Regions from separate parts of the Homo sapiens genome. Here region 2 is linked to region 1. The links are contacts of gene promoters, found by promoter capture Hi-C in blood cells and fetal thymus (Javierre and others, 2016). All regions are on one chromosome and are shown on one strand. The core of a region is centred on a gene start or on the middle of the fragment in contact, and the rest is flanking DNA. Distances in the headings are between cores, read along the strand shown.

Region 1 (3,881 bases), core at 590-3,089:
GGGTGGGGAGTCCAGGAAAGGGAGCATTGCTCCCTGGTGCAGGCTTGGGGGAACTGGCTGCCCCCCTCCCACCTGACAACCCCATCCTACTGTTCCAGCCTGCAAGCTATGTGCAACCGCCTTTGGGGCTGTGGGACCGAGTGGAGACTAAGACTCTCCTGGAGAGAGCTGTAGGGCCGAGTCTGTGTGGGATGTGGGTGGACACCTGGGCCTGGACCATCCTCTTGGTTTGTCTTGGCTGGTGTAGGGTGTGCGTGTGTGTAAGCCAGCCCCCTGCTGCCCTGGTCAGCTTGTTTTATGACCCCTGGCCTGTGGGCAGAAGGCCTGGCTGTGGGCACCATCAGTCTCACTAGAGGCTCTGTGGCCACCCCTACACCTGCTGCCCACCCCTCAGGCAGAAGGCAGGACAAATGATCAATTTTAATTAGTTTTGACTCCTTTGAATTAATTCTGGCTGTAATCAGAATTTCTTCAGTAAAAAAGCACAGAAAGTTCTTCTCCCGAATAAGGGTCTTGTTAAATAAAGTGGGTCTTTCTAAGCCAGGAGAAGTTCAGCTCAGCTCCTGGGAAGGTAGCAGTACCTACGGCTCAGAGGAGTGGAGGGCCCATCCATGTAGGAGCCTGGGCCTGTGCCCCAACCTCAGACCAGCATGTGCCCCCAGGGGTGGTGGGTGGGCCCTGGAGGGCAGAGAGGTGCCTCTAGCTGGCTCTCGGAAGTCCTGACCAGTGACAATTCTTAAGACACCATTAAGTGTCCACTGGAGCCAGGGCCTGTGCTAGGGGCTGAGGGTGACAGAGGTGACCCATCTGGCCAAGTGACCTGTGGCTGGAGAAACTGAGGCCCTCCTTCGCCTCAGGGACCCTGACACTCTTCAAGGCCAGGTCTTTGGTGGTGCCAGATACTCTCCTGTCCCTTGGTTTGCTTGTGGCTTGGTTCTTGGTGTGTGATACGTCTCTGTGTGTGTAGTTGCCACACCCTCCAGTCTCTCTCATACACACTGTTTCCCAAGCATACACTCACAAACACACCTTGTCTCAGACTCAAACACACACATGCCACACACACACCATACATCACACACTCCATGCACACACATGCATCTACACACACCCCACATGCACATCACACACACGTACTCCATGAACAACACACACACGCACACACACAGACGCACACACACACACCCCCCAACCTCTTTTATGCACTTTCCTGACCTTTGGAGACCTGGCTCCTAGATGTATCTCTGCTCAAAGTTCCCCTCCCTGCCTGGGGGCAGCTCTGGACTCTGGTCTACTTTCGGCCAGGGCACACCTAGCCCACTCCCAGGTCCACCTTCCTCCAGTCTACCCCCAGACTCCTCTAGGCCATCATCAGCCAGCGCTTCATCCTCACCTCAGCTCCCTCCCCGGTCTACCCCCACCCTCTGCCCCTGAGCCTGGACGGAAGTTCCCCAAGTCTCTCCAGCCTGCATCCCAGCCCACCGTCAGCCGGCCCCCACGCTCACCCCAGCTCACCTCCCAGTCTGCCCCTACAATCTGCTCCCAAAAAGCTCCTTTGCAGCTCAGCACCCCAGCCCCGCCCTCAGAGCCCATCAGCCGGCACCCCACCTTACCCCAGCTTGTCCCCAGCTCGAAACCCTGCCCTCGCCCCCCTCTCACCCCGCTGAGACTCCAGCCGCCCCCATCCCTCCCACCCGGCGCGCCTGCAGGGACTGCACCCCACATCTGGAGGCAACGGGGCACGGCCGCAGGCGTGGTCTGGGGGTGCGGCCTGAGGGCGGACCCCCTGAGGCCCCGCCCCACCCCAACCCCAACCGGGCGTCCCCCAGCCGCGCCCCCAGCGGGACCGAGCGTGACCCAGCTGCGGCCGGCCAGCCATGGAGACTGGAGCGCTGCGGCGCCCGCAACTTCTCCCGTTGCTGCTGCTGCTCTGCGGTAAGGGGGCGACGGCCCGCACCGGGGGCGCCCCCACTCCTCGGGGTTCACCGGACCCGGGTGGACCCGCGCCTTCCCGCACCTGCGCCGCGGTCCTTCCCTTGCCCCGGAGCTCGGGAGGGGCGCACAGTGACCCTGGCGGGATTCCCAGGCTCTGCGGGAGGGTTCCACCCGGGAGAAGCTGAAGGCGAAGGACTCTGGCGGGCAAGGGAGGCACAGGGCCCCCTCCGGGGTCTTCTGACGGCAGGGTCCGGCAGCCCCCGGTCCTTCTAGTTGTGATGTCCCCCCACGCCCCGGTTCTGGGGTCGCCTCAGGGTGGGCGAGAAGAGGTGGACCAGGTCTGGCTCTTTACCCCTTATCCCCCAGGGTGGGCTGTCTGTAAGGTAGTGAGCTCTCTGTCCTGGCATTGAGTGCCTGCCCACCACTCACAGGGGCGTGGGCGGGTGGACTCCGGACTGGGTAGCTGGTCCTCCCAGGGCCCCTCAGTGTGTGGACGCCTGTGTGTGTCCTGGAACTGGCTGAGAGGGGAAGCGGGGCGACTCTCTGAGCCATCCTCTCCTAATGCCTTCTTCGGCAAGAAATCAGGACTCTAGGAAGAACCATTGCTCACAAAATGGAAATAGATTAAACTAAAAGCTTGTTTTGAAGTACCTTGCTAAAGAAATTATCCAAGAAAAAGTAAGAGAGAGAGAGAGAGAGAGAATGTGTGTAAAGGCTGTTGGGGAAGAGTGCTTGCTGAGGGCTGGGGTCCACTGAGTGGTGACTGAGCCTGGCCAGTTCTGGGGGGGACATTGGTGATGGAGGGCCCTGGCCTGGTGGTCCCCAGTTTCCCTGGCTGTAAGATGCAGAGTTGGGCCTGTTTTGATGATTTGGGATTTGGTACGGGAGGTGGGAAAAGGGTGGACCAAACTCAGTGGTCATTTTCCTTCCATTGAAGAGGTCTTGGTGTGCAGAACTTGTGTGGCTTCATTTGGTGTTCCAGGGCTGGAGCCTAGGATGTGGTGGATTTTGTGTTGAAGTGCAAAGGTGGATGGCAGCTTCTGAAATCAGGAGCATGCTGATTTGGGATTTCAGCAAACTTCCAGTGAGCGCCCCTTAGGTGGAGATCTTGGTCGCTATAGTGGAAGGAAGGTCCTCTCAATTCATTCTGGGAGAAGCTGAGGCTTTCCTGATCATCTCCAGTATCAAATTGAGAAGGACCACAGGCTTCCGCCTGCACAGAATCCCCCCTTAATAATCCTGTCTCTCGTGGACCCAGTTCCTGAGGGCCACTTCTTTGTCCTGTTGTGTTGGTCCTGACTGTCCCCCTCCAATGGGACATGGGTTCACGCTCCCTGGCCAGAATAGGGACCAGGTCCAGCTTCTCAGCAGACCCTCCCAGTGTTCGACTGGCCAGAGTGAGATTCAGGGAGAGGTAAAACTTGCTCATGGTCCCAGGCCGATGTGTCAGAGGTATCCGGGACTGGAACCCACATCTGCCCTGGATGCTGCTGTGTCTGGAAGGAAGGAGCTGGGTGGGTTCCTCTTGACTGAGGACTAGCTCAGGAGGACCAGCAGGGAGGGTGCAGGCCTCTGGGGCTTCTTTGAGAATTCCAGACCTTTTTCCAGAAAGCATTTGATGCTGTGTGGGGCTGTGGGGATGCGAAGTCCAGCAGTTGTCTACTCAGCAGGACACTTTGCTGTGGTGCCCAGCTCTTGACTGGACTCTTCTGGTCTGGGTGAAAATCCTGATCATGATCCCAAGATTATAAAGCACTCACTGGCCTCAGTTTCCGAGCTGCAATGTAGATGTAATAATAGCAATCTGTAAAGGGCTGCTGAGACCGTCAGTTTGATTCCATTCAGTTTAGTCCCTATCACCTTGTGTTGGGCATGGGATTGTGGGGTGGAAGGGTTCATGCTTAAACAAGGGGAGGTATGGGAAGGCACCCACCAGTGACTGCACT
Region 2 (4,200 bases), core at 1,500-3,999, 2.0 Mb after region 1:
TCAGCACCAGATGTTTTCTGTTTTTTCTGTGGAAAGTAACCTGACCCCTTTCCCACCTGACGATCCCAGTCACAGCTGTCACAGTAACCAAGGACACAGCGCCTTTTTTTTGTTGTTTTTCTAAGAAAATACCAAGATGAAAATCAGGAAGAACAAGGGAAAGCCATCTCCTAGCTGTCGTGGATCTCTTAGAGCATAGGTGTGCCCTGTAACCTGGCAATGCACCCGGAAAACAAAGCGTGCGACCTCAAGGGTTATCACCTGCATTTTGCAGAAACCTAAGAGAAATCCACATCAGTTGCTTGGGAGAAAGTGTTTCCTCTTCATTACACAAGTTCTTCGTAGAAAATAATATATAATATTTCTTTATTTGGGTTTTCTTGGACAAATCCTCTATAGGGCAGCAGTTTCCCATGGCAGCTAGGCCAAGAGATTCCTGATCAGAGACTGCCATCTGCTGGATGAAGGGGATGGCCAGAGGCTTCTGTGCTTCGTTTTGTTTTGTTCTGAATTCTAAGAAACAAATTGCAGGGCAGATGGGGTCTGATTAATGCAGAAGGGAGTGCTTTTGGCATTGATTGACAAGGAAATTGGCTTTTCTGATGCAACCATAATGGATCAGCCATGGTTACGGCTTTCCCCTGTGTTAGCCCTCAGTAGGGTTATGTCTACCTCATTTGGCAGAAAGTTAAGGCTCAGCGAGGCTAAACCACAAATACAGAGTTACCCAAGTAATAAGCAATAGAACTGGGACTGGGACCTTGGACTATTAGATCCCAAAGATGCTTGATCATCCCAGAGTGAGTCAGAGGCAGTTAGAGGATGAGATTCTTAGGCAAGGAAGGAAGTGAGATGCTAGAAGGGTCGCAAGGAAGAAAAAGAGAGAAAGAAAGGGAAGAAGGTTGGTGGTGGGACCTAAGCTCCAAACACTCTCCGTCCTCACCAGGATGGCTCAGGATGAACCCAGAGCTCTCACATAGATGGACAGACTCACAATGGCCAGGAAGGAAAAAAAAGGATGAAGACCACAAGTAGGTATAACCATGCACTTGCAGAGAAGAGGGGGCATATTGGGCTGTGAGATTGTATAACCAGTGCATCAAGGGACACGGAATCAGTGGCACCATTTCCTGAGTCTGCAGTATAAAGGTTAGCTGGCTGCCCAAGGAGAAACACAGCAAGTCAAAGAGAGGTCAGAGGTTTCTCCCTGAGGTCTTTATACAGAGATCATGATGTAGCGTAGTCAAGGACAGCCTCACCGATGTCCTCATGGCGAGCAAAGTCATGCATTTTACAGGGCTCTGTCTTAGAATGTCCCTGCAATGTACATTACATTTTAGGAGCATTCAGGAAAAGTACTGCAATAAAAGAAAGCCATGTGGTCCCCAGAGCACTCTGATGATGTGGCTTAAGGCTGGGACCAAATGAACAGTATTGAACACTAGCAAATGCCTAGGTGCTTGTCTCCGTGAGTTTTCTTTGCGACGCATTTTGACAAGCGTGGGATAGCTCTGAGTTTGACATTTTATCTTCTGAGATGAAGCTGGAGAGAAGCCAGTCCAGGCATCCCGTGCTGCAGTGGCTTTTAGGGGAGCTGAGGACGGCAGTCTTCCTGTGTCCAGGCCCCCCAACCAACCTCCTCCACAGATGGGCAGAAGAATCTCAGTGAACTGCATTAAAATTGGTCTTTACCCCATGAAAGATTGGCAGTGGTGCAGGAAAAAGAACAAAGGGCCAAGCCTCAGTCTCCCCATCATCAAATTAGAAGAGTTAGCTAGATCCGTGATTTCAAACTTCCCTCAATCCAGCTCCCTGCTCAGCCCTGTCCCAGCCCGGCCCCAGAGTCCTTCCCTGAGTGCTGCAGCTGCAGCAGGACTGAGAATTCCCACCCTGAATGCTACAGCTGCTTCCCAAGTATGAAGCTGAACAAATGAATTTTCTCACCAACTTGCTCACATGTCTGACCTGACAGTGCACCTGTACCTCAGCTCCTCCTCTCTGCAGTCCGCCTAGGGCCCTCCCCACTACACTAAAGAGAGGCGTTACCTGTCCTAGGAATAGCACACTGTTCCCTGCTCTCCCCCCACCATGCCCCAGCAGCTTCCCAAGCTTGGCATTCCTACCAATTCATGTAAGCCAATCCCAAAGGACTCTATTTATAGTTTTCAAATATTGGCACATGAGCTGCTTCCAGCCTGCCAGGTACTTTCTGAGAAAGAACACAGTACAGCTCTCTCTTGCTCGCTCTGCCTCTCTCCCTCCTACCTCTCTCCTTCTGTGTGTGTCTCTCTCTCTCCCCAAATGCTGCTTTTAAGCCTATCAGCCCCTTCACCAGGGACTGTGAACACAAAGACCAATGCAAAAAACATCTTCAACTGAAGCCATTCCAAATTGGAAACAAGCCACCATCCATGGAGAGTTTGGGATGGTTTGGAAAAAAGTATTTTGCTATTGCCAAAGTTCTAATTCAGCATCCTTTGAAATCTTACATTCAAGAAGTAGTCCTTATATAACACAAATTTGGTGAGAACATTCCAATGCTCATCATTCAGGTGTCAGGAAAAGATCCAAATAATAAAAAACTTAAATGAGTCCTTATTTTTTTTTCCACTGGGGCACATATGGCATTCACATGTAAGAAACACTCATAAATGTGTGCCCAGTATTACCCACGACTCACTGGAACCCCAGGCCAGGGGTGGGGACCACAGACACTGAGTGATGGTACAGGAAGAGGAAAGGGGTAGGCCTCCTCCACTGGGCAATGGTTTACTTCTGTGACAACAGGGTCTCCATAGCACAGCATGGTGCCCAGCATGATGATGGGCATCGTTCCTGCACCCTGGGGTCCCCAGAGCTGTTTGGGGTCCCACTGATGGGATGCAAGTAGAGATACCGGACAAGAGCTGGAGTGAGCTGAGGCTGCTAATGTTGCCCCATGGCAGGCATCAAAAGTTTCTTCCTGCCCAGGCTGGGTTGGAGCAAGGAAGACCCTAAGCCTCCCCAGCATCTACCGTATTGTTAGATCTGGAAGTGGGAGCCCTCAGAGAGTATAACTTTGAACCCTATCACAAAATGCTGATATAAGACACAAACAGAGAGCATTCCCCTCTCTGTGCCTTGGCCCACACCTGGGATTGGTGGAGCCTCACATCTCTATGACCTTTAACCTTCACCATCACTGCAGTTGCCTGACTTCTCTTGTTGCCAGAACACACAGAGCTCATAACCAGGGAGCATTTGCAGGTATTTCTGCCTCTGTCTGGAATGCTCTGTCTCCTCTCCTTTTCACTCTGCCACCTGGCTCTCCCTGTTGGAAGGGCCACTATCTGAAACTGCCTTATGTCTTCATATGTTTCACGTGTGCAGCTGTCTCCCCTAGTAGAATGTAAGCTTCAGGGGACAAGGCACTGTTTTATTTATCACCATACCTCCTGCATTTAGCATGTTAATTAGTCATAGTATTTGTTCAATTAGACATGGCAAATTGATACTAGCTACTCTTTATTGAGTACCTATAATGTTGTCAGAGAGTTCACATGCCTTCTGGGAAGTTCCCAGAACAATTCCATGAGACACAAACCTCACACCCAGCTTCAGTCAAGCTGGAATACTATCATTAATATATGCAAATTCAGTAAAGGCAGCTTTATATGAAAGTAAGGTACCATTCCCTGAGCCTTCTAATGGGCCATCTGACCAGGGGAGCAGTGGGAGTAGAGAGAAGTGGGTGAGTCCCAGGGTCAGATGTGGAGGGTGAAGCATGTTCACATGTCTGTGCTCCTAGGAATGTACCCCTGCATCTGGGGTGATGCTTCAGCCTCACCCACAGTGCCCTACACACCTGTCATGCACCATTTACTGGAATGGGTTGTTAGGAGAACGTTCTGCACATTTACAGGGTTTAACCTTCATCCTGGAGAAAAATCACAGCCCTCAAGCTTCAAAGATTCTCATAGAAAATTTCTGGAAAATAGAGATCTCTAGAATTACAAGTCAGAATTGATGTGATTCTTCTGAGACTGAACTTGGAACCAATACAAATGAGAAAAAAGCAGAAAGAATGTGCGCCAGACCCACGTCTGCCCCACCCCCCGCCACTGCAGCCTTCTACTCCTCCCCACCCCGTCCTACAGAATCCAGTTCTGACCACCGCTGTCACTCAGCGTCTCTCCAGTTATCCCCAAGGGGCTCGTCAGT

What was found. The method cuts DNA at HindIII sites, captures the fragments that hold promoters and counts their contacts. A CHiCAGO score of 5 or more calls a contact.
Region 2: a contact is called between a fragment that was not itself captured here and the fragment with the promoter of RAMP3 in region 1, in 1 of 17 cell types (M1 macrophages). The highest score is 6.6, in M1 macrophages.

What each region holds. Positions count from the first base shown.
Region 1 is chr7:45,155,952-45,159,832 of GRCh38, forward strand. RAMP3 (receptor activity modifying protein 3) reads left to right here and starts at 1,840. Exons shown (of 3, transcript NM_005856.3): 1 at 1,840-1,935. The coding sequence starts at 1,878. The HindIII fragment of the contact is 23,160 bases long and covers 1-2,569 here.
Region 2 is chr7:47,179,944-47,184,143 of GRCh38, forward strand. No RefSeq gene overlaps it. Among named protein-coding and RNA genes, the nearest start is that of SNORD151, 280 kb to the right of the region's middle. The HindIII fragment of the contact is 1,284 bases long and covers 2,108-3,391 here.